Regions from separate parts of the Homo sapiens genome. Here regions 1, 3, 4, 5, 6 and 7 are each linked to region 2. The links are contacts of gene promoters, found by promoter capture Hi-C in blood cells and fetal thymus (Javierre and others, 2016). All regions are on one chromosome and are shown on one strand. The core of a region is centred on a gene start or on the middle of the fragment in contact, and the rest is flanking DNA. Distances in the headings are between cores, read along the strand shown. Region 1 holds the start of TMEM14B (transmembrane protein 14B). Region 2 holds the start of BLOC1S5 (biogenesis of lysosomal organelles complex 1 subunit 5). Region 3 overlaps LYRM4 (LYR motif containing 4). Region 4 overlaps MAK (male germ cell associated kinase). Region 5 overlaps C6orf52 (chromosome 6 open reading frame 52). Region 6 overlaps GCNT2 (glucosaminyl (N-acetyl) transferase 2 (I blood group)). Region 7 overlaps PAK1IP1 (PAK1 interacting protein 1).

The links. The method cuts DNA at HindIII sites, captures the fragments that hold promoters and counts their contacts. A CHiCAGO score of 5 or more calls a contact.
Region 1: a contact is called between the fragment with the promoter of TMEM14B here and the fragment with the promoter of BLOC1S5 in region 2, in 8 of 17 cell types (non-activated CD4 T cells, naive CD8 T cells, activated CD4 T cells and 5 more). The highest score is 22.9, in non-activated CD4 T cells.
Region 3: a fragment that was not itself captured here is called in contact with the fragment with the promoter of BLOC1S5 in region 2 in 2 of 17 cell types (total CD4 T cells and naive CD8 T cells); the score reaches 6.7 in total CD4 T cells.
Region 4: a fragment that was not itself captured here is called in contact with the fragment with the promoter of BLOC1S5 in region 2 in 4 of 17 cell types (total CD8 T cells, naive CD8 T cells, total CD4 T cells and 1 more); the score reaches 7.4 in total CD8 T cells.
Region 5: a fragment that was not itself captured here is called in contact with the fragment with the promoter of BLOC1S5 in region 2 in 6 of 17 cell types (total CD4 T cells, activated CD4 T cells, naive CD8 T cells and 3 more); the score reaches 16.8 in total CD4 T cells.
Region 6: a fragment that was not itself captured here is called in contact with the fragment with the promoter of BLOC1S5 in region 2 in 5 of 17 cell types (M0 macrophages, non-activated CD4 T cells, total B cells and 2 more); the score reaches 8.2 in M0 macrophages.
Region 7: a fragment that was not itself captured here is called in contact with the fragment with the promoter of BLOC1S5 in region 2 in 8 of 17 cell types (non-activated CD4 T cells, naive CD4 T cells, naive CD8 T cells and 5 more); the score reaches 32.6 in non-activated CD4 T cells.

Annotation. Positions count from the first base shown.
Region 1 is chr6:10,746,405-10,749,104 of GRCh38, forward strand. TMEM14B (transmembrane protein 14B) reads left to right here and starts at 1,401. Exons shown (of 6, transcript NM_030969.5): 1 at 1,401-1,477. TMEM14B-DT (TMEM14B divergent transcript) reads right to left here and starts at 1,180. Exons shown (of 2, transcript NR_187231.1): 1 at 1,057-1,180. RefSeq lists an enhancer at 961-1,010 and silencers at 1,131-1,360, 1,195-1,415, 1,371-1,430. The HindIII fragment of the contact is 12,296 bases long and covers 1-2,700 here.
Region 2 is chr6:8,063,014-8,065,713 of GRCh38, forward strand. It overlaps BLOC1S5 (biogenesis of lysosomal organelles complex 1 subunit 5), which reads right to left and starts at 1,376. Exons shown (of 5, transcript NM_201280.3): 1 at 1,252-1,376. The coding sequence starts at 1,363. BLOC1S5-TXNDC5 (BLOC1S5-TXNDC5 readthrough (NMD candidate)) reads right to left here and starts at 1,401. Exons shown (of 13, transcript NR_037616.1): 1 at 1,252-1,401. All of the region lies in intron 3 of EEF1E1-BLOC1S5 (EEF1E1-BLOC1S5 readthrough (NMD candidate)), which reads right to left. RefSeq lists enhancers at 584-1,210, 820-1,009, 2,700. The HindIII fragment of the contact is 8,031 bases long and covers 1-2,493 here.
Region 3 is chr6:5,255,997-5,258,696 of GRCh38, forward strand. All of the region lies in intron 1 of LYRM4 (LYR motif containing 4), which reads right to left. It also overlaps a transcript of FARS2 not described here. Among named protein-coding and RNA genes, the nearest start is that of LYRM4, 3.6 kb to the right of the region's middle. The HindIII fragment of the contact is 3,663 bases long and covers 1-2,700 here.
Region 4 is chr6:10,834,401-10,837,100 of GRCh38, forward strand. The region is part of intron 1 of MAK (male germ cell associated kinase); the gene reads right to left. Among named protein-coding and RNA genes, the nearest start is that of MAK, 2.8 kb to the right of the region's middle. The HindIII fragment of the contact is 1,245 bases long and covers 812-2,056 here.
Region 5 is chr6:10,680,502-10,683,201 of GRCh38, forward strand. C6orf52 (chromosome 6 open reading frame 52) reads right to left here. Exons shown (of 5, transcript NM_001145020.3): 4 at 2,686-2,700. Among named protein-coding and RNA genes, the nearest start is that of C6orf52, 13 kb to the right of the region's middle. The HindIII fragment of the contact is 4,166 bases long and covers 1-2,700 here.
Region 6 is chr6:10,531,676-10,534,375 of GRCh38, forward strand. The region is part of intron 3 of GCNT2 (glucosaminyl (N-acetyl) transferase 2 (I blood group)); the gene reads left to right. Among named protein-coding and RNA genes, the nearest start is that of GCNT2, 12 kb to the left of the region's middle. RefSeq lists enhancers at 2,327-2,576, 2,697-2,700. The HindIII fragment of the contact is 3,081 bases long and covers 1-2,700 here.
Region 7 is chr6:10,703,245-10,705,944 of GRCh38, forward strand. PAK1IP1 (PAK1 interacting protein 1) reads left to right here. Exons shown (of 10, transcript NM_017906.3): 5 at 161-213; 6 at 1,263-1,408; 7 at 1,503-1,600. Among named protein-coding and RNA genes, the nearest start is that of PAK1IP1, 9.6 kb to the left of the region's middle. The HindIII fragment of the contact is 5,983 bases long and covers 1-2,700 here.

The DNA of each region.
Region 1 (2,700 bases), core at 151-2,650, 2.7 Mb after region 2:
TTTACTCTGGTACTAATTGAAATAGAGCAGAAACCAATTTCTTTAATTTATTTTATGACATGTTTTGATGGACTTTACCTACACAGAAGAGCTATGTGTTCTGGTTGAGGAACGACACTGCAAGAAGCAGCATATGGTAGAATTAAGGACGCAGGCTTTGACATTAGACCTTACTTTAAATAATAGCTCTACCAGTGACCAGGACTGTAGGTAATTTAATTCTCTGAGGTTCAGCCTCTTCAAGTATAAGGTGGGGAAGGGCTCGAGGATCATGGTGGATGATCCTAATTAAGGTTTGAGGCTTGCACCTGCATAGGGAAGAATGAGTCCCTAAAGCCATTCCCTGCTGGTTAAGACAAGTCTCATTAATTGTTCAGGAAAGTCTTCAATTAAATTGAAGGTCTGGCATACTGCAATTCCTGCAAGTTCTTAGTTATTATCAGCTCTGGCTGGTTAGAAGCAGCTATGATAAACACGGGCTTCAATTTAGCTATCTGGAAGGTAGGTGCTGCTGCAAGTGGAAAGTTTGTCTTTAAGAATATGCGCTGCAATTTGCTTTATTCACTGATGATTATATTGATCGGAGTTGTCTATGTTGATACTTGTAGGGGATGAAGGAGAGGGAGAAGTCAACGATGACAGCAAATTTTAGTGTAGAGCAACTGAGCGAATGGTGGTGCAGGAAACACAGAAGAGGAGCGGCTCGGAAGTGGGAATGGAGATAACATCATACTGTGGACATTCGGAATCCACAGAGCTGCGTGGAAATCAGATTTAACTTGCTCTCTCTCCCCATTTAAGATGCTTCTCAAGTAGCCTCACTCCCTAAAACAAACGGATATTTGGCATTGCGCCACATTATTCTGCAGCTGCCATATTTTCTTGCAGGTGGAAGGCAGGCCCTTCCTGGTGTAAACAAACAAGATCGGGCCAGAGTGACAATCCTCCCTGATGGCCCGCACCTGGTTTATACCCTCTATTAATGGGGTCCTTCAAAATCATCAGATGCCCTCCTCCCGCAGCGGTGGCCTCCACCTCTGGCCTGGCCCAGCTTACGTGGTCCAGCTTGTGCAAGATCCAATTCCAACTCCGGGTTTCCGGCTTTTGGCCACTCAGGATTGGACCTGGGACTGGAGCTGGTCGGCCCTGCAGGTGCTGGGCCTGGGGACTGAGGAAGCACAGAGATTCCCCGCCCGGTTCCCCGCCAACGGCGCTAGCCGCGATGCCCCGCCTCACTCCCCGCCCCCGGGATGCAGGGCGCGTGCTGGTAATCCGCGGCTCAAGCCCCGCCCCCACTGTCCCCATTCTCCGCTCACCTCTCTCCAAGGACACTGCGCACGCGCCACGACGTCCCGCCTTTCTCCCCGCCCTGCCGCGGCCCCGGGGCGCAGCGCGCACGCAATCGCGTTTCCGGAGAGACCTGGCTGCTGTGTCCCGCGGCTTGCGCTCCGTAGTGGACTCCGCGGGCCTTCGGCAGGTCGGTGCAGGTCTTTGGAGAGTATTGTTTTTATTTTCTGCCACTTTTAACTTTTAGGGATTATTTAGGAGTTTCACGGCCGTCTGCTTTTCGTCCCCCCGATTCAGCGGGCCTTTATGCCGTGTGGTCGGTGCTTTTCTCCTTGGGTATTTTCTGCTTGTCTTAAAAGAGGCTGTGGATGCTCGGAGCACCTGAGCTCCTGAGGCAAAGGCTTACCCTTGTAGCATAGTGTTGCCTCGTTTCCTGGTGGTTTTGTTGCTCCAGCTCTTTAAAAGCCTCCCTTACTCAGTGCCGCCTCGAGTTAAGAACTGTGGGCAAGATCCCAAGCCCGCTGCCCTTCCCCGTTTTATGGGAAATTAATTCTTTCTTTTTTTGGGGGGTGGGGAGGGGTTCTCGCTGTGTCGCCCAGCCTGGAGTGCAGTAGCCTGAATATGTCTTATTGCAGCCTCTGCCTCCTGGGCTCAAGCCATCCTCCCACCTCAGCCTCCCAAGTAGCTGGGATTACAGGTGCATGCCATCATGCCCGATTTGTGTGTGTGTGTGTGTGTTTTAATAGAATATGGGTTTCACCATGTTGACCAAGCTGTTCTCGAACTCCTAACCTCAGGTAATCCGCCTGCCTGGGCCTCCCAAAGTACTGGGATTACAGGCGTGAGCCACTTTGCCTGGCCTAATTCTTTAAACAGAATAAACGGCGTATGCATTGCTTTCCATCTTGTTAGGTTCACTGCATACAGAATACTTTTCTGTAAGAAAATAGGAGCTGTTTTTCCAAGGGTGCAATGTCACATGTGATTCTGACTTGAGTTTCCGTGTATTTTACCCTCCCCTTCTGCCCTCCTAACGAGAACTGTGAGTTGGATGCAGAAGTTTCTAAAAAAAAAAATTGAGTATTGAAATTGGCTGTTGCATCAGTGAAGAAAAGCAACATCCCTACCACCCCTCAAAAGAGACATTAAAGTAGTTGGATTAAGGGCACGGGAGTATTTGCTTTCCGATTTAGTGATAATGTGAGTGCTTAATGAAATGACTAACACATTCCCTGATTATAGAGCTGGTCAGTGGATCTTGCTGAGTTTCCTGTGGACCTATGTGAAATGATCGGCATCTGTTCAGGGTTTACTAGGTGCTAAGCACCTTTACATGTGACATCCATTGAATGCTCACAACACCCCCAGGAAATTGGTACCAGTGTTATCCTCATGGTACAGTGAAGGATACTG
Region 2 (2,700 bases), core at 126-2,625:
TACACTTATCAACATAAATATAAAAAATAATACGTATTTTATAATAAATATAATAAAAAAGCAAGTTTCAGAAGGATTAAAGCAATTTACATAAAACTTTAAAATATTCAAAATATTTCCTTTTGGGATATAGACAGAAGCAACAAAACTATAAAGAAATGCACAAGAATAATAAACACCAAATTCTGGATAGTGGCTACCTTGAGACGAGGGAGGGGAACTAGTGCAATTAGAGCAAGACACAGTGGGGCTTTTAGTAATTTATTTATTAAGGTGGGTGGTGAATGTTCATTGTAAGTCTCTTTTTCATAAGTCTGAAAAAGTCATTAAGAAAAGGTCTGAATTTAAGTCTTTTGGTGAGTCAGTTTATTATTCTTCTTAGTTACAACTATGTAGTTTAAAATGTAAGTCTCAAAATTCCTTGAGAAATTAAATCTAAGACAATGTATTATTCATATTCATTCACTGGCAATGTTCCCCAAATTTTTCATTTTTGCAGACATACGATGGGCAGGTTTCAATTCTCTATTTTAATGAATTTTATTAGTACATATCTTCTTAAGCATGTCAAGTAGAAAAAATAATACAAGCACTGTATATAAGCACTTTATATCTGGTATATATAAAGCACTACAACTCAACTGTCAAAGACTTTCACGCAGCAAACAGCGTTGTGAGCTTTAGGAGTCAAACCTAAAGCAGATTCTGTGAGAATCTAGGTTGTAACCTTCTCCCAGCTCAAAGCACACAGAACACATGGACATTTCTGAACGTGAATGGTTCTTTACAGTGCTATAGAGCGCCTTCGTAAGTGTATCTCACTTACTCCTCGCACGACCAGGAACAGATCGGGTAGGAGAGTGAGTAAAGCCAGTGACCCGAAGTCACTCAACTCCTAAGCGACTGCCTCCCGCCTCCCAGGTCCAATGCCCTTTCCACTACACGTCGGTGGCGAGGCTGCCCAAAGGCTCTGCGCCCAGGGGTCCTGAGCTTGCGGAATGGACGGGGGCGGGCCTGATGGCTCAGGCTGCGACAGAGGAAAGCGGGGAAACACGAAGAGTTGGGCTGGTTGGTTGTGGTGGGACGCATTTGGCGCGGGGAAAAAGGCGGGGACCGACCACGACTCCCCCACCCGCACAAACGCACGCGCGCCAGCCCGGGACCCGGGGGTCGGCCCGGGTCAGAGGGCGCCGCCTGGGAGATGAGGCTGTGCTGGGATCCACCAGGAACTATAGCCCTGACACTCCGTACCCTTGATAATGAGGTGCGCTGAGCCCGCAGTCCCCAGGGAGTCCCTCTTCTTGCTGCCACCGCCCGGGGCGGCCTCACAACCCACAGGGGTCTCTGTCCCTCCGCCACTCATCCCGACCAGTTCCGCCCACCCGCGGCCACGCTGCGCCTGCGCAAACCCGGCCGCCCTCTTACAAGGCGCGCCCGGGTTTTTTTTGTGTGTGTGTCATTACAGGGCGCCGGAGAAATTTAATCTACCCAGCGGGCGGTTCCGGAAAGGCGCCTGCCGTGTAGTCAGGCTGTGAACTGGCAGAAGCTCTTGCCGCCATGCTGGATCAGGGCGGATGCTGCTAGAATAGGAAGGTGCTTGAACTTTGGAGCTAAACTCAGAGCCCTGGTTATTTGGCTCAAAGCTGGTGCATTCCAGTACAGTTGTCCTCCCATATCTGCTGAGAATACATTCCAAGACCCCCAGTAGATTCCTGAAACTGCATATAGTACTGAACCATGTATATACTATGTTTTTTCCTGTATATACATATGATAAAGTTTATAAATTAGGCACAGTAAGAGATGAACAATTAGAACAATTTAATAAAAGTTATGTGAATGTAGTCTCTCTCCCAAAATATCTTATTGTACCGTCCTGCGGGTAATGAAACCACAGAAAGTGAAACCTCAGATAAGGGGGGACTACTGTATAGCAAAGCCAATTAGCTGGGGGCTGTTTCCCTACTATGCCATGAGTGTGGCTGACTATTCCTGCCTTTCTTTTTAGACACCTGTTTCCTAGAATGCTTCTCTTGCTCCCTCTTTCTGTTCAAGTCAGTAAACTCACGTTGTATAATAAAGAATTTGACTGGACTTTGACTCTGGTTCCTGGGAGGTACCCTCAATCCTTAGAATTTCCCAAGTGATAGAAGTGTCTTTGTTATTCATGGTGGGCCTCTGGAAATACACCTGAGTTTATGCTAATGAGATGGCTCATGGAGGGCCCAAGATGATTTCAGAATGGAGGCTGGCCACACCAGAAGGGCCGGCCAACCATGAGGGCTTAGGCTTTGAGTCACATAAGCAGGCCCACCTCTGGGGAGCAGATTGGGGCTGGAGACTGAGTTCAGCCATGTGGCCAGTGATTTAACCAACTATGCCTACATAATGGAACCCCAGTGAGTACTCTGGATGTGGAAGCTCAGGTGAGCTTACTGGTCGATAATCATTCATCAAAGTGTCAGGAGGGGGAAGCGTTCCTGAGGACACGTAAGCTTCTATTTGGGAAATCTCCCACATCTCGCCCTATACATCTCTTCATTTGGCTGGTCCTGATATGTGTCCTTTATAATAAAACTGTAATAGCAAGGAAAGCACTTTCTTGAGTTCTATGAGTCATTCTGTGAAACCTGAGGGAGTAAAGCGAATAGCAATGAAACATCATGTGTAGAGAGAAGCTGCGTGGGTGAGAACTGAGGC
Region 3 (2,700 bases), core at 127-2,626, 2.8 Mb before region 2:
CTTGATGTGTATTAACTCACCACAGTGGTGCCGACTACAGCCCCCATTAACAAAGAATTAGCTGGCCCAAAAGGTTGGTCATGCCAAGATTGAGAAATCCTAGTTTAAGGTGAGAAAATTAGTGGCTACGGATGCTATTCTAGGGAACATCAGAATTGAAGGAGTTGGCTGAAGAAGAGCCAAGAAGACAAAATTTAAGAATGTGGTTCTTGGCCAGGCGCGGTGGCTCATGCCTGTAATCCCAGCACTTTGGGAGGCCGAGGTGGGCGGATCACCTTAGGTCAGGAGTTCAAGATCAGCCTGGCCAATATGGTGAAACCCCGCCTCTACTAAAAATACAGAAATTAGCCAGGCGTAGTGGCAGGCACCTGTAATCCCAGCTACTCGGGAGGCTGAGGCAGAAGAATTGCTTGAACCTGGGAGGTGGAGGTTGCAGTGAGCCAAGATCGCACCATTGCCCTCCAGCCTGGGCAACAAGGGCAAGATTTCAACTGGAAAAAAAAAAAAAAAAAAAAAAAAAAAAAAAAAAAAAAAGAATGTGGTTCTTAAACTTATTGGTCTCAGGACCCTTTTACACTGTGTGAGATGGATCAATTATGACTCTCATTTTATAAAGAAACTGCAGAACAGAGAGTGATGTGACTTGCGTGGGGTCACACAGAGTTGGTGGTGCTGACTACTGCAGTGCTCATCACTCCTCTGAGCTTCAGAGCCCTGTGATTAACTACCTCTGCTGGGCATCCCAGGGGAAATTTACACCCAAGATACCCTAAATATGAACTAAAAAACCCTCTCTCCACAAGACCAGCTAGTTCTGTATTACCTGAGTCAGTTAATGGTGCAAGTTTAAATTCACCCTCTCTGTGCTTTAGCTTAACCAGAAACCTGGATGCCATTCTAGACTCTGCTTGGATTCTCTTCTTCCTTAGTCCTCAATCCAATCATTCCAGTTCCAACAATTTTCCCTTCTAATGATTTATCAAATACAACATTCTTCTCTATCTTCCACTATTCCTGTCCTTACTAGCGTCCTAATCTCTACTCTGCACTGTTGTAATCAACTCCCATTTGATGTCCTTGGCCCCTCAAAATCATCTTCTACACTGCTGCCAGAGTGATCTATCAGAAAATGCAAATCTGGTCATGTCAGGTTAGTGGCTGCCTGTGAGCTAAGGGTAAAGTCCAGGGTCCTCAGCACGGCCCCCAGGCCCTCAAATCAGTGGCCCTCTCCAACCTCAGTGCCTTCCTGTCACCGCCCCCCCAACCCCATCATACTTACCTCCCTGGCAGTGCTGTGCTGTTTGCCTGCCTGACCACACCAAGCTGCTTCATGCCTTTGATCCAACATCACCCCTTGGGAGGCCTTCTAGATTCCACACCTTGTACATCCTTCTGTCACAGCACTTAACCCAGTCTGTGACAACTATCTCTGTACCTGTGTCCCACATAGGCCTGTAAAGCCATTGATAACAGGTGCCTAGCTTAGTTCAAAAATCTCATCTTTCTCTCTCCAGGGCTTGGTATAGCAGGGGTCCCCAACCCATCAGTACTGGTCCGTGGCCTGTTAGGAACCGGGCCACACAGCAGTTGAGCGGTGGGTGAGTGCGCATTATGGCCTGAGCTCCATCTCCTGTCAGATCAGCGGCGGCATTAGATTCTCATAGGTGCACCTATTGTGAACTGTGCATGTGAGTGATCTAGGTTGCATGCTCCTTATGAGAATCTAATGCCTGATGATCTGAGGTGGAAGAGTTTCATCCCGAAACCATCCCCTCCCTTGACCCGGTCCATGGAAAAACTGTCTTCCATGAAATTGGTTCCTGGTGCCAAGAAGGTTGGGGATAGCTGTGATATAGCACTGGGCAAAGCATGCTTCAGAGATGTTTTGTAGAAGCACTGAGGTAAAAGAATGACACACAGCAATGAGACCTGTTTGGCTGGTGGGAGGGATGGGAGTGGAAGCTGTGGGATGAAGAGAGTTGGGAAAACTTTTGTTCAGAGAAGGTGACAATTGAGCTCAATCTTGAAGGAAGAGGGGGCACTCTAGACAGGAGTGATAAAGGGCCTGCTGGATAGAACAGTACTTGTAAAGGCCTGGAGGCCCAACAGGACGTGGCACATTTAGGAAACTGCAACTGATGATGACAGAGGACAGGATGCACATGTGGGACTTAGGCTGAGACTGGAGGAGCAGACAGGGCTCCTGCTATCAAAACGTGGCCTATATTATAGGTCTTGCAAGAGAGTTCCAAAGTATTTATTTCACTACTCTAATTACTTAAGGCACAATTCGCAGGTCATTAAAAAACGTTTACTAGTCTGCTTTTGATTGCTTATTCAGCACTACCTGTGTTAGTTTTGATAGGTAACTTAAGCTCCCTGTGCCTCAGTTGCCTTACAGGGTAATACAAATAGTACCTACCTCACAAGATTATTGTCAAAACAAATGTGTTAATAGACATGAAGAACATAAGATAGCAGTGGCACACAGAATTGATAGTGGATGTTGTGTTGCTATTGATTTGCCATCAGTGACAAACAGCTGCAGAGATTAGAGAGGAGGGAAGGGACTTTTCCTGAAATTCACAAGACACAGCCTTAATGTAAAAGGACGTATTTTTATAACAAGTAAGTTTATCTAGGGAGGTAATAGCAGGAATGTCGGTTTTTAGGTCTATGATCTCAGGTAACAGTATAAAA
Region 4 (2,700 bases), core at 184-2,683, 2.8 Mb after region 2:
GTTGTTGGTTTTTCAGGGTCGTCTCCAACTTCTAAACAAGCCATTCTTATGAACTGGTGCCAGCTCTTACTATCCCTAATGAGGCTAAAGAAATCATCCTCTTTGCTCCAAAACCACACAGACTAAGCTCCACAACTCAAGCCACCTACCCCAACCTCCACCTTAAGATTCCTAATGCAGCTCTTCACTCAAACACTAAGATATTGCTGACTACCTGGAAAGTGAAGTGGGACTACTCCATATCCTGACTAAACCCTAATGCTACATCTGGGTCATTCAGACCAGTGAAAAATAACAGAAACAGTGAAGGGAAAGAGTGAGACCTTAGAACTTGAATGGTTAAGGGAGAAAGAATCTAGGTGGTGCTCCTCTCATGAAAATTATTATTATTATTATTATTATTGTTTGAGACAGAGTCTCACTCTGTGCCAGGTCCGACCCGCAGACCCTGGCTGAATGACAGATCAAAGAATGCACTCAGACACAGGTATCCAGTGAAAGAGCGGGCTAGGGGACCGGGCAGCACACAGACCCCAGGAGGGTGCTGTAAACCGTGGCCCTGCTCAGCTGGCGCTGTGGGCATTTATTCAGCACAGATTTAATGACAAAGGCTTTGAGTTAACACACTTGTGGGTAATTAACATGGTCGCACCGCTCCCCCGCCCCACGCAGTCCTGCGTCTGGATGATTAAAGGCCAGGTTCTGAGGCCTAAGTAAACTAACTTATCTAGATTAGTTTCTTTACATCCCCTTGTTATCTAACCTAAGCTCTTAAGAGAATTCAGCTGCCTTCAGCCAAATTTTCTTTTGAAGCTTTGCAAACCCCTGGCCTTCCAAGAAGGTTTGCATCTTTCTACGATTTTTCCCACCACCCTGACCAATCTCCTACAGCTCGGATGCCCAGGCTGGAGTGTGGTGGCGTTATCTCTGCTCACTGCAACCTCCGCCTCCCAGGTTCAAGGGACTCTCCTGCCTCAGCCTCCTGAGTAGCTGGGATTACAGGCGCGTGCCACCATGCCCGGCTAATTTCTGTATTTTTAGTAGAGACAGGGTTTTACCACGTTGGCCAGGCTGGTCTTGAACTCCTGACCTCATGTGATCCACCTGCCTCGGCCTCCCAAAGTGCTGGGGTTTATAGGCGTGAGCCACTGCGCCCAGCCATGAAAATTATTTAATTCAGAAACATAATGGTATGATAGCATCATCTTTTCTTTTAACCAAATTATTTTCATGTTAACACCTAACCAAGGACAAGCATTTGAGGGTCTAAAAGGTAGAAAAGTAATGCAGACAATTCTGAAAAAGGACATATGACTTGAGAAGGGAATGGAAGAGGGAGCTGCCTCTGGTTGCATGGTAATGATGGTAGCGAGTGTTATTCAGGAAGTGGAAACACAAAGAGTGACAAAAAAATCACCTTCATTGGCCCAACAATCTAAAAATTAAGAATTAATTACACCTCTCTCTTCCACTATTAAGGCCATCAGCCACCCCCATCACCACCGCCCTGGGGTGGGAGGGTGACCTGAAGCTGCACCAGCACTATCAGCACAATAGAGCATTCAGTCACTGATGACTTTCGACCCAAGCCTGCGTGCACAGTCTCTTTGCGAGTGGCTATTTTGGCAACTTCATTCCAAGCCTAACCAATCAACTTCTGAATAAACACCGGCAACACCAATTGTCTTTCAACGGATGATGGCTATAGGATAGGGTGTACTTATATTGAGGGAAGAATAAGCAAGGAACACGACCATTTCCCAGCTCCTTTCTGTTTGAGGGGTGGAGTGTTGAGGATTACGGACGTGACATAGATTTTTAAAAGGTCAGATTAGTGGTTCTGTGAGGATCTGTCCCATTTAAGCCCTACCTAACCTTTAAGTAAAACAACTTTACATACTGCGCTCCCTAAGAAAAAACTTTGGAAAGGCTTCTTTTGAACTACATTAATTACAAAATCAACAGCTGCCCAGGGTGAGACGCTGATCATTGCAACTGTTCCTTCTATCCCCTGAACATACAATTGTCTAATGTAGAGACATAGACATCAAGGTAAAGCTTTTAAAAAATCATTATTCCATGTCCCTGCTCCCTGATAGCACATAAGCAACTACTTTTATCAATGTGGCATAGCAACTACTGATTACTAATCAAAAAGCAGTCTATGTTCCTTAAACACAGGCTTCCCATGGTTCTCCAGTTCACGCACAATAATATTTCTCTACAAGTTACATATATTCTTCTCTGTTGACCTATGGAAAACTAATCTACAAAATAGGAATATATTAACACAGTTTCTTATGTACATGAATATATATAGATATGATACATATGCAACAAAAAACCCAAGTAAATATAACTATCATCCTCAATTTAACAGAATTGTTAAAAACTTGGAATTTTCTACAATCAAGCTATAACATTTATTGACCTTCCTATGGGTTAAAGAAAAAGATGCTTATTTAGAGGCTTAATTATAGACCTACACAAAAATAAATACCCTTATAATTTATCTCTCATTCTAGTTTTCAACTTTTTAATCTAAGTTCATAATTACCGTTTCTCTAAGTGCACAATTGTTGTAAATATAGCCTTTACTCTCAACAGCTTTTGCCAGCTAATAAGAGATTCAGATAGGATTAAAGAAGATTAGCAAAGAGGGCAAATGAAGGGTAAAACAAGCGTCTGCCAAAAACTGAA
Region 5 (2,700 bases), core at 139-2,638, 2.6 Mb after region 2:
TGTGATATCAGAGTAATGCTGGCTTCATAAAATAAGTTTCAAAGTATTTCGTCTTCGATTTTTTGGAGTGTTTAAGACATGGCATTAGTTCTTCTTTAAATATCTGGGGGCTGGGCATGGTGACTCAGGCCTGTAATTCCAGCCCTTGGGGAGGCAGAGCTGGGAGGATCGCTTGAGCCTAAGAGTTTGAGACCAACCTGAGCAACAAAGTGAGACTCCACCTCTACAAAAAATAAAATAAAATGAAAAATAAATGTTTGGTAGAATTAAACAGGCCATCAGGACCTGGGCTTTTCTTTGATGGGAGACTTTTTTTTGAGACAGGGTCTCACTCTGTCACCCAGGCTGACATGCAGTGGCACATTCATAGCTCACTTAAGCCTCAGTCTTTTGGGCACAAGCAATCCTCCTATCTCAGCCTCTCAAATATTTGGGACTATAGGTACATGCTACCATACCCAGTTATTTTTTTAAATTTTTTGTAGAGACAAGGTCTCACTGTATTGCCAAGTCTGGTCTCAAGCCCCTGGGCTCAAATGATCCTCCCCTATTAGCCTCCCGAAGTGCTTGGGATTATAGGCATTATCCACCAGGCCTGGCCTGATGGGAAACTTTTTATTACTGTTTCAATTCCTTATTATTGGTCTGTTCAGGTTTTCTATTTCTTCATAATTTAATCTTGGTAGGTGGTAGATTGTATGTGTCCAGGAATTTACTCATTTCTTCTATGTTATCCAATTTACTGATGTATAATTGTTCATAATTGTCTTTTATGTTCCTTTGTATTTCTGTGATATCAGTTGTAATGTCTCCTTTTTCATCTGATTTTGAGTTTCTTTTGTTCTTAAAGGTTTGTTGACTATCTTTTAAAGAAACCAACCCTTCATTTTGTTGATCTTTTGTATTGTTTTTCTAGTTTCTATCTATTTTTGCTATAGTCTTTATTATTTCTTTTCTTCTACTAATTTTGGGTTTACTTTGTTCTTGTTCTTCTAGCTCCTTGAGGTGCAACTGCATTACATTTCTACTGACCAGTACTGTGCCAGATTGATGACCAGCCAATACTTGAGTGTTTATGATATGGCAGCAGCTGTTTAACCACCTAAAAGTACTGTAGACCTAGCATACCCACACTTCCTATAAGAAAGGTATCAATGTCCCCACTTTACAGAAACTGAAGCAGACACACTAGAGATTAATTTGTCTGGAATTACAGAGCTAGTAGGTAGAATCTGAACCCCGTGGCAATCTGTATCCAAAAAGCAGACTTTTACCTCTATTATTTTGATAGAGGCATGGGACAGCCAAATGCCTAGGCAAATAGGGTAAGGTCCCTGGAGAACCTCCAACCTGCCCAAGTCATTGTGCACAGGGGGCTTGGCTAAACATGCCCACGGTGAAAAATTCCATCTTTTAACACATGTGCAATAAGGGAAATAAATCAATGTGGAGTGGCTCAGACTAAGGGCCCACGTGCACATTGGAAGAATGAGGAGGAGTCACCAGGAATTCACACCTTATGCAGGGGAGGAGCCTGGCCTTTTCAACTCGTATGTGATGGCCTGGTATTCAATTTGTGAGGTGGAAACCTGTGTTTGGGATCCCTCTTTTTGTTAAGAGCTTTCCTTTCACTTAATAAATTCCATCCTCCTCACCCTTCAATGTATCCACATGCCTAATTTTTCCTGGTTGTGAGACAAGGACCCAGATTTAGCTGAACTAAGGAGCAAGAAATCCTGCATCAATTTTAATAAATTGCATAACTGATAAAAGGCAGGAAGAAAGACTCACACTTAATCTGAAAGAAATCCCACAAAGTTGAAATAAGCACCCTTTACTCATGTTTAAATCAAAGTACTAAAAACTACAACTGCTCAACAGCATATAAACATTTCTTTTCAACACCAATTTGATTTAATTTAAACACTGAGCACCTACTGACATGTGAACTCTCTGAATTAGTAACAGGGCCTACAAAGACTGATAACAACATGCTCCCTTCTTTGATAAAGTCATAAAGGCAGTGGGTGGGTTTGTCTGGTAGGGGCAGGGGTTTGGGCAAGAGAGAGATTAGACAAACATGTGATAAGACAGACATGTGATAAGAAAAAGGCAATAGTGTTCTCTGCATTTCTCCTCTATTTTTCTTTCCCATTACTTAAAAGAAGCAAAACATTTTTTCCCCTTCCTCAAATAAGACACATTCAGAGTGTTTGTCTCTAGGCAGGCAAACTTTGTTCTTTCCAAAACAAATTGAGAAGTACAGGAAGCACCACCAGACTGACACTACAGTGCTGCTCTGTCAGGTACCCCAGGATCCAATAACCCTGAGGCCACAGCAATCACCTCATGCTCTTCCCCCTTGAAAAAGAGAATTAAAGCATAATTCTCCTCAAAGTCTAAACTTACAGAGGAAATGGAGCTTAAGAACAATGTATTGTCTTCTTACTGTTTGGGAATGTCCCCCTTTCTCAGTCCTTCAGAAAGGCCCAAAGAGGTGGCTTAGTTAAAGTTGTTCCCATAGAACCAGTTTCTAAAAACAGGAGAAATTACTGAAGCATATGGCTTAGGCAACCTACATTGGAATTTTCCAATAGAACCTTCCAGTTTCTAGCAAGCTGAGTGAATGAGAAACCAGGAAATGGGGTTTTGTTTCCAACCACTTCAGCACAAGGTTTATGTTACCTTCTAGTGGGTCTT
Region 6 (2,700 bases), core at 201-2,700, 2.5 Mb after region 2:
AAAGTCTGGTGGGGAAAGCACAGAGCTGTTTAAATAGAATTGTAGTGTCCAGAGTAAGGGAAGTGAAAGCCTCACTTCTCTCCCATGTGCTTGGAGTAGGATGTAGACTCTTCAGGTCTGGCCACCCTACTATACGGGGAGACATTGACACAGCAGTTCCAAAGAGAGCAGCCAGGGAGGTAAAAAGGCCAATCCCCACTTTTTTTTTTTTTTTTTTTTAGAGAAGACCAAGACAAAGAAAAAGGATAATTGATTTGGAAAAGACTTGAAGAGGGATCGGTGTCTTTACCTAATTAAAAGATTTGCTCAGGAAAGAGAAATTAGACCAACTCTGTCGTTTTGGAAGTAGAATCTAGGGCCAGCGGGTGGGAGATGAGAACACATGGAGCTGGGAATAAAACGGGCAGCTTCCTCAATGGTGAGCAAAGCCAAGGGAAGCAGGGCTGGGGAAGTGCTGCTGAGGAAACCTCAAGGATTGGACCGGATGGCCTCCGAGTCCCTTCCCACTCTCAGAGTCTGTGATCCTAATCAGGGGACTCAACAGAAACTTAAGGGAAACCCCCTGACTTCTCGACTCGATGTATCTATTGGAGCTGGATTTTTACACCCCGTGTTAGCAGTAACAGATTGGCAAAGCAATAGAAAACAAATGCACCAATTCATGTTTTTCAGAAACTTAACAAAAGTTAGCCCCTGAAGTCATTTCTGTGTTATGTGTGTGGAGGAACACTGCCGGAGGACCCTGACCAGCTCTGCCAACTCTTTTTTTTCTTTTTTTGGATCTCACTCTGTCATCCAGGCTGGAGTGCAGTGGCACAATCACGGCTCACGGCCTCAACCTCCCAAAGTGCTGGGATTACAGGTGTGAGCCACACAGCACCCAGCCCGTGCTGGTCTTGACCTCCCAGGCTCAAGCCTTCCAAGAGGCTGGGACTACAGGCATGTGCCCCCATGCCTGGCTAACTTTAACTTTTGTAGAGACGAGGTCCTGCTGTGTTGCCAGTGCTGGTCTTGAACTCCTGGGCCCAAGCGATCCTCCTGCCTCAGCCTCGTGAGCCACCACATCGGGCAAGCCCTGCCAACTCTTTCCTGACCTGAGGCAGGGCTGAATGTAGGAGGTTAGGGAATTAGAAACCTAAGGGTTGTCTTGTTTAATTATTATTCCGGCTATGTGGAGATCTGAGCCATTTTCCGTTGTAAGGGTCCTTCTGGTTGATGTGTATATGTTGTGGTTTTTGCTTTTTTTTTTTTTTTTTTTTGGCAGGTGTGCGAGGGACATTTTGAGATTGTTCCAATTCATTGTCATGATTGAGGGATTATGATTAGGATTCTGTAAAGTAACTAGTCCAGGCCAGGTGTGGTGGCTCACGCCTGTAATCCCAGCACTTTGGGAGGCTGAGCTGGGTGGATCGCCTGAAGTCAGGAGTTCAAGACCAGCCTGGCCAACATGGTGAAACCTATCTCTACTAAAAATACAAAAATTAGCCGGGTGTGGTGGCACGTGCCTGTAATCCCAGCTACTCGGGAGGCTGAAGCAGGAGAATCACTTCAGCCTGGGAGGCGGAGGTTGCAGTGAGCCAAGATCCTGCCACTGCACTCGCGTCTGGGCGACAGAGTGAGACTCCATCTCAGAAATAAAAATTTAAAAAAAAATTAGTCCAGAAAAACATCTCACAGCTGAAGTGGTCTCATGGGAAGGGAGAACAGCACTGCCCAATAGGAATGCTATAATGGGAGCCATAGATCTAAAATCAAATTTTAGATTTTCCAGGAGCCACATTAAAAGAAGTAAAAAGAAGCAGATAATATGAATTTAAAGAATGTATTTTATGCCAGGTGTGGTGGCTCTCGCCTGTAATCCCAGCACTTTGGGGAGCCGAGGTGGGCGGATCACTTGAGGTCAGGAGTTTGAGACCAGCCTGGCCAACATGGTGAAACCCCAACTCTACTAAAAATACAAAAAACTAGCCAGGCGTGGTAGCTTGTGCCTGTAACCCCAGCTACTCGGGAGACTGAAGCAGGAGAATCGCTTCAGCGATTTAGGAGAACCAGGAGGCAGAGGTTGTGGTGAGTTGAGATCATGCCACTGTACTCCAGCCTGGGTGACAGAGCAAGACTCTGTCTCAAAAAAAAAAAAAAAAAAAAAAAAAAGAATGTATTTTATTTAACTCAGTTTGAAACATCACTTTTACTTGTGGCCTGTGGCTGCGACCACAGGCAGGGGAGGTGGACCACGCATCCTCATTGCTGGTGCAGTGGTCAGGCTCTGCCGCCCTAGCAGCACCGAGACGTTGGCCGTCCTCATGTCGCAGAGTCTCCACCTCTGCTGGTTTTGCTTTGCCTGCTTCTACTTTATTTGAAATTCTTGCCTGTGCTTCAGCACTTCCCCTGGTTTATGGGCTCCTCCACCCTGTGGGTTCTACTTCCTATGTCTTCCCCTGGTATCTGCCAGATTCCATGCTGCTCTTTTTTTTTTTTTTTTTTAAGATGGAGTCTCGCTCTGTCACCCAGGCTGGAGTGCAGTGATGTCATCTTGGCTCACTGCAACCTCCTCCTCCTGGGTTCAAGCAATTCTCCTGTCTCAGCCTCCGCAGCACCAGGGATTACAGGTGCATGACACCACGCTTGGCTAATTTTTGCATTTTTAGTAGAGACGGGGTTTCACCATGTTGGCCAGGCTAGTCTTCTGACCTCAGGTGA
Region 7 (2,700 bases), core at 12-2,511, 2.6 Mb after region 2:
GCCTCATAATATTTCAAAATATTGCTGTAAGGAAGATAGCAGGTCTTCTAAATAGCCAATATTTAGTAAAATGTCACTTAAGTCTTCATTATGCTTGTTCTTTTACGCTTAGTAAAAGTTAGTTGGTGATCACACCGTAAGTGAGCTTCCTGTTTTGCAGAACGTGGAATCTTGTAGAAGGAAGATCAGCATTCATAAAAAATATAAAACAAAGTGAGTATTTTTGTTTGAAATGCAGGTTGAGCATTCCTAATCTGGAAATCTGAAATGCTCCAAAATCTGAAACTTTTTGAGCACTGATGTGGTGCCTCAAGTAGAAAATTCAACACCTTACCTCATGATGGGTCACAGTCAGAACCTTGTTTCATACACAAAATTATTTAAAATATTGTGTAAAATTACCTTCCGGCTAGGTGTATATGAAGCATAGATGAATTTCATGTTTAGACTTGAAACATGAGTTGCATGGGTTTTATCCTCGAGATATTTCATTGTATATATGCAGATATTCCAAAATCCAAAATCGTTCTGGTCCCAAGCATTTTGGATAAGGGATACTCAACCTGTATATTTTACAGTGACTTAATGGAATATGAATATAGATATACATTTTTACATGTGTGTATGTTACACATTTATTTCCCTGCATGGTGGTGGTTACCTCTGAGCAAATGCCTTGGGTTACTTTCTTTTCCCATTTTAGACTAGATTCTTTTTGTGGCTCTGCCACCTGCCTTTGATTTTTATTTTGTTTCATTTTATTTTATTTTATATTTTTTATTTTATTTTATTTTTTGAGATGGAGTCTCGCTCTATCACCCAGGCTGGAGTGCAGTGGCGCTATCTCAGCTCCCTACAACCTCTGCCTTCTGAGTTCGTTATTCTCCTGCCTCACCCTCCCAAGCAGCTGGGATTACAGGCGCGTGCCACCATGCTTGGCTAATTTTTTGTATTTTTTGGTAGAGAGATGGGGTTTCACCATGTTTGCCAGGCTGGTCTCAAACTCCTGGCCTTAAGTGATCCACCCACCTTGGCCTCCCAAAGTGCTGGCATTACAGGTGTGAGCCACTGCACCTGGCCCACCTTTGACTTTTTGAACCTAGATTATTTTCTAAAAAACTTGACTTGTAAAATGTGTTACGAAGATGAAATAGGATAATGAATTTGAAAATGCACAGTATAAATATTTGCTATTTTTATTACTATGATCATTTTATGTTTTATTTACAAAATAAATAAACTTCGTTTTTTTCCACTTACAGATGCTCACATAGTAGAATGGTCCCCAAGAGGAGAGCAGTATGTAGTTATCATACAGAATAAAATAGACATCTATCAGCTTGACACTGCATCCATTAGTGGCACCATCACAAATGAAAAGAGAATTTCCTCTGTTAAATTTCTTTCAGTAAGTAATCAGAAATCATTGACCAAAGTTTGTGGTGATGGTTGGAACTGTTGATGACATTCTGGATGTTATTACTCTTTTTCCTCTCTCCTAGGAGTCTGTCCTTGCAGTGGCTGGAGATGAAGAAGTTATAAGGTTTTTTGACTGTGATTCACTAGTGTGCCTCTGCGAATTTAAAGCTCATGAAAACAGGTATTTTTACCAATCTTTGGTGTATATGTCTAGTCTTAATAAAAGGTATATATGCAGTAGTTTCATAAGCCAGGTTATATGTTTTTATTAACAACTGCAGAAATAATCAGACATATCTACATGTACAGTATATGGTATCTGTAGTCTAATAAGGTGGTGGAAGATGTTATCTTCCTGGCATTTAATAATGCAAAAGTGGGCCGGGAGCAGTAGCTCACGCCTGTAATCCCAACACTTTGGGAGGCTGAGGCGGGCGGATCAGGAGGTCAAGAGATCAAGACCATCCTGGCCAACATGGTGAAACCCCGTCTCTACTAAAAATAAAAAAATTGGTGTGGTGGTGCACGCTGGTAGTCCCAGTTACTCGAGAGGGTGAGGCAGGAGAATCACTTGAACCCTGGAGGCGGAGGTTGCAGTGAGCCAAGATCGCACCACTGCACTCCAACCTGGTGACAGAGTGAGACTCTGTCTCAAAAAAAATAATAATAATAATGCAAAAGTGGTGAAATTGTTTTCTGGACTGTCATTTACACAAGGTATTTTTTAAATGTCTGTTAGACTTGGAGCCTGAAATCAAGCATATTTGAACAAACAAAAGACTAAACAATCTTGAGCTTTGTTCCCATCTACTTTTGTCCTTTTACATAAGTCCCCTTGCCTACTTCTTCCCCCTTTCCATGTGATTTTTTTTCCTGCAGGAGAAGTGAATTGACGTTATTGAGTTCCTGTTTTGTGCCAGCTTTTATTACCTTTTAATGCTTTCTCTATTTCTAGGGGGTAGATAGTCTCAAAGTAAGTAGTTAAGTGGTTGGCCAATATTACCCCAATAGTGGAGCTGAGAGCTGAACCCGGTTTTATCTGACTCTTATATCCCTGCTTTCTCCAGTAATTTTGAAAAAGGTGATCTAATATACAGAGTTAGATTTTGATGTGATCCATTTGCATGTTCTATGTCTCAAATGAGTCTTAATTCTTATTTCTTAAACAGTGGTTAAGTTTTAAGAAATCCATACTTAGAGTACTGCAGTCAGTAGTATAAAGGCCTTACTCTTCTCCTATATTGGGAAGTGAATATATTTTTCAAAGTCGCCCATTCCAGA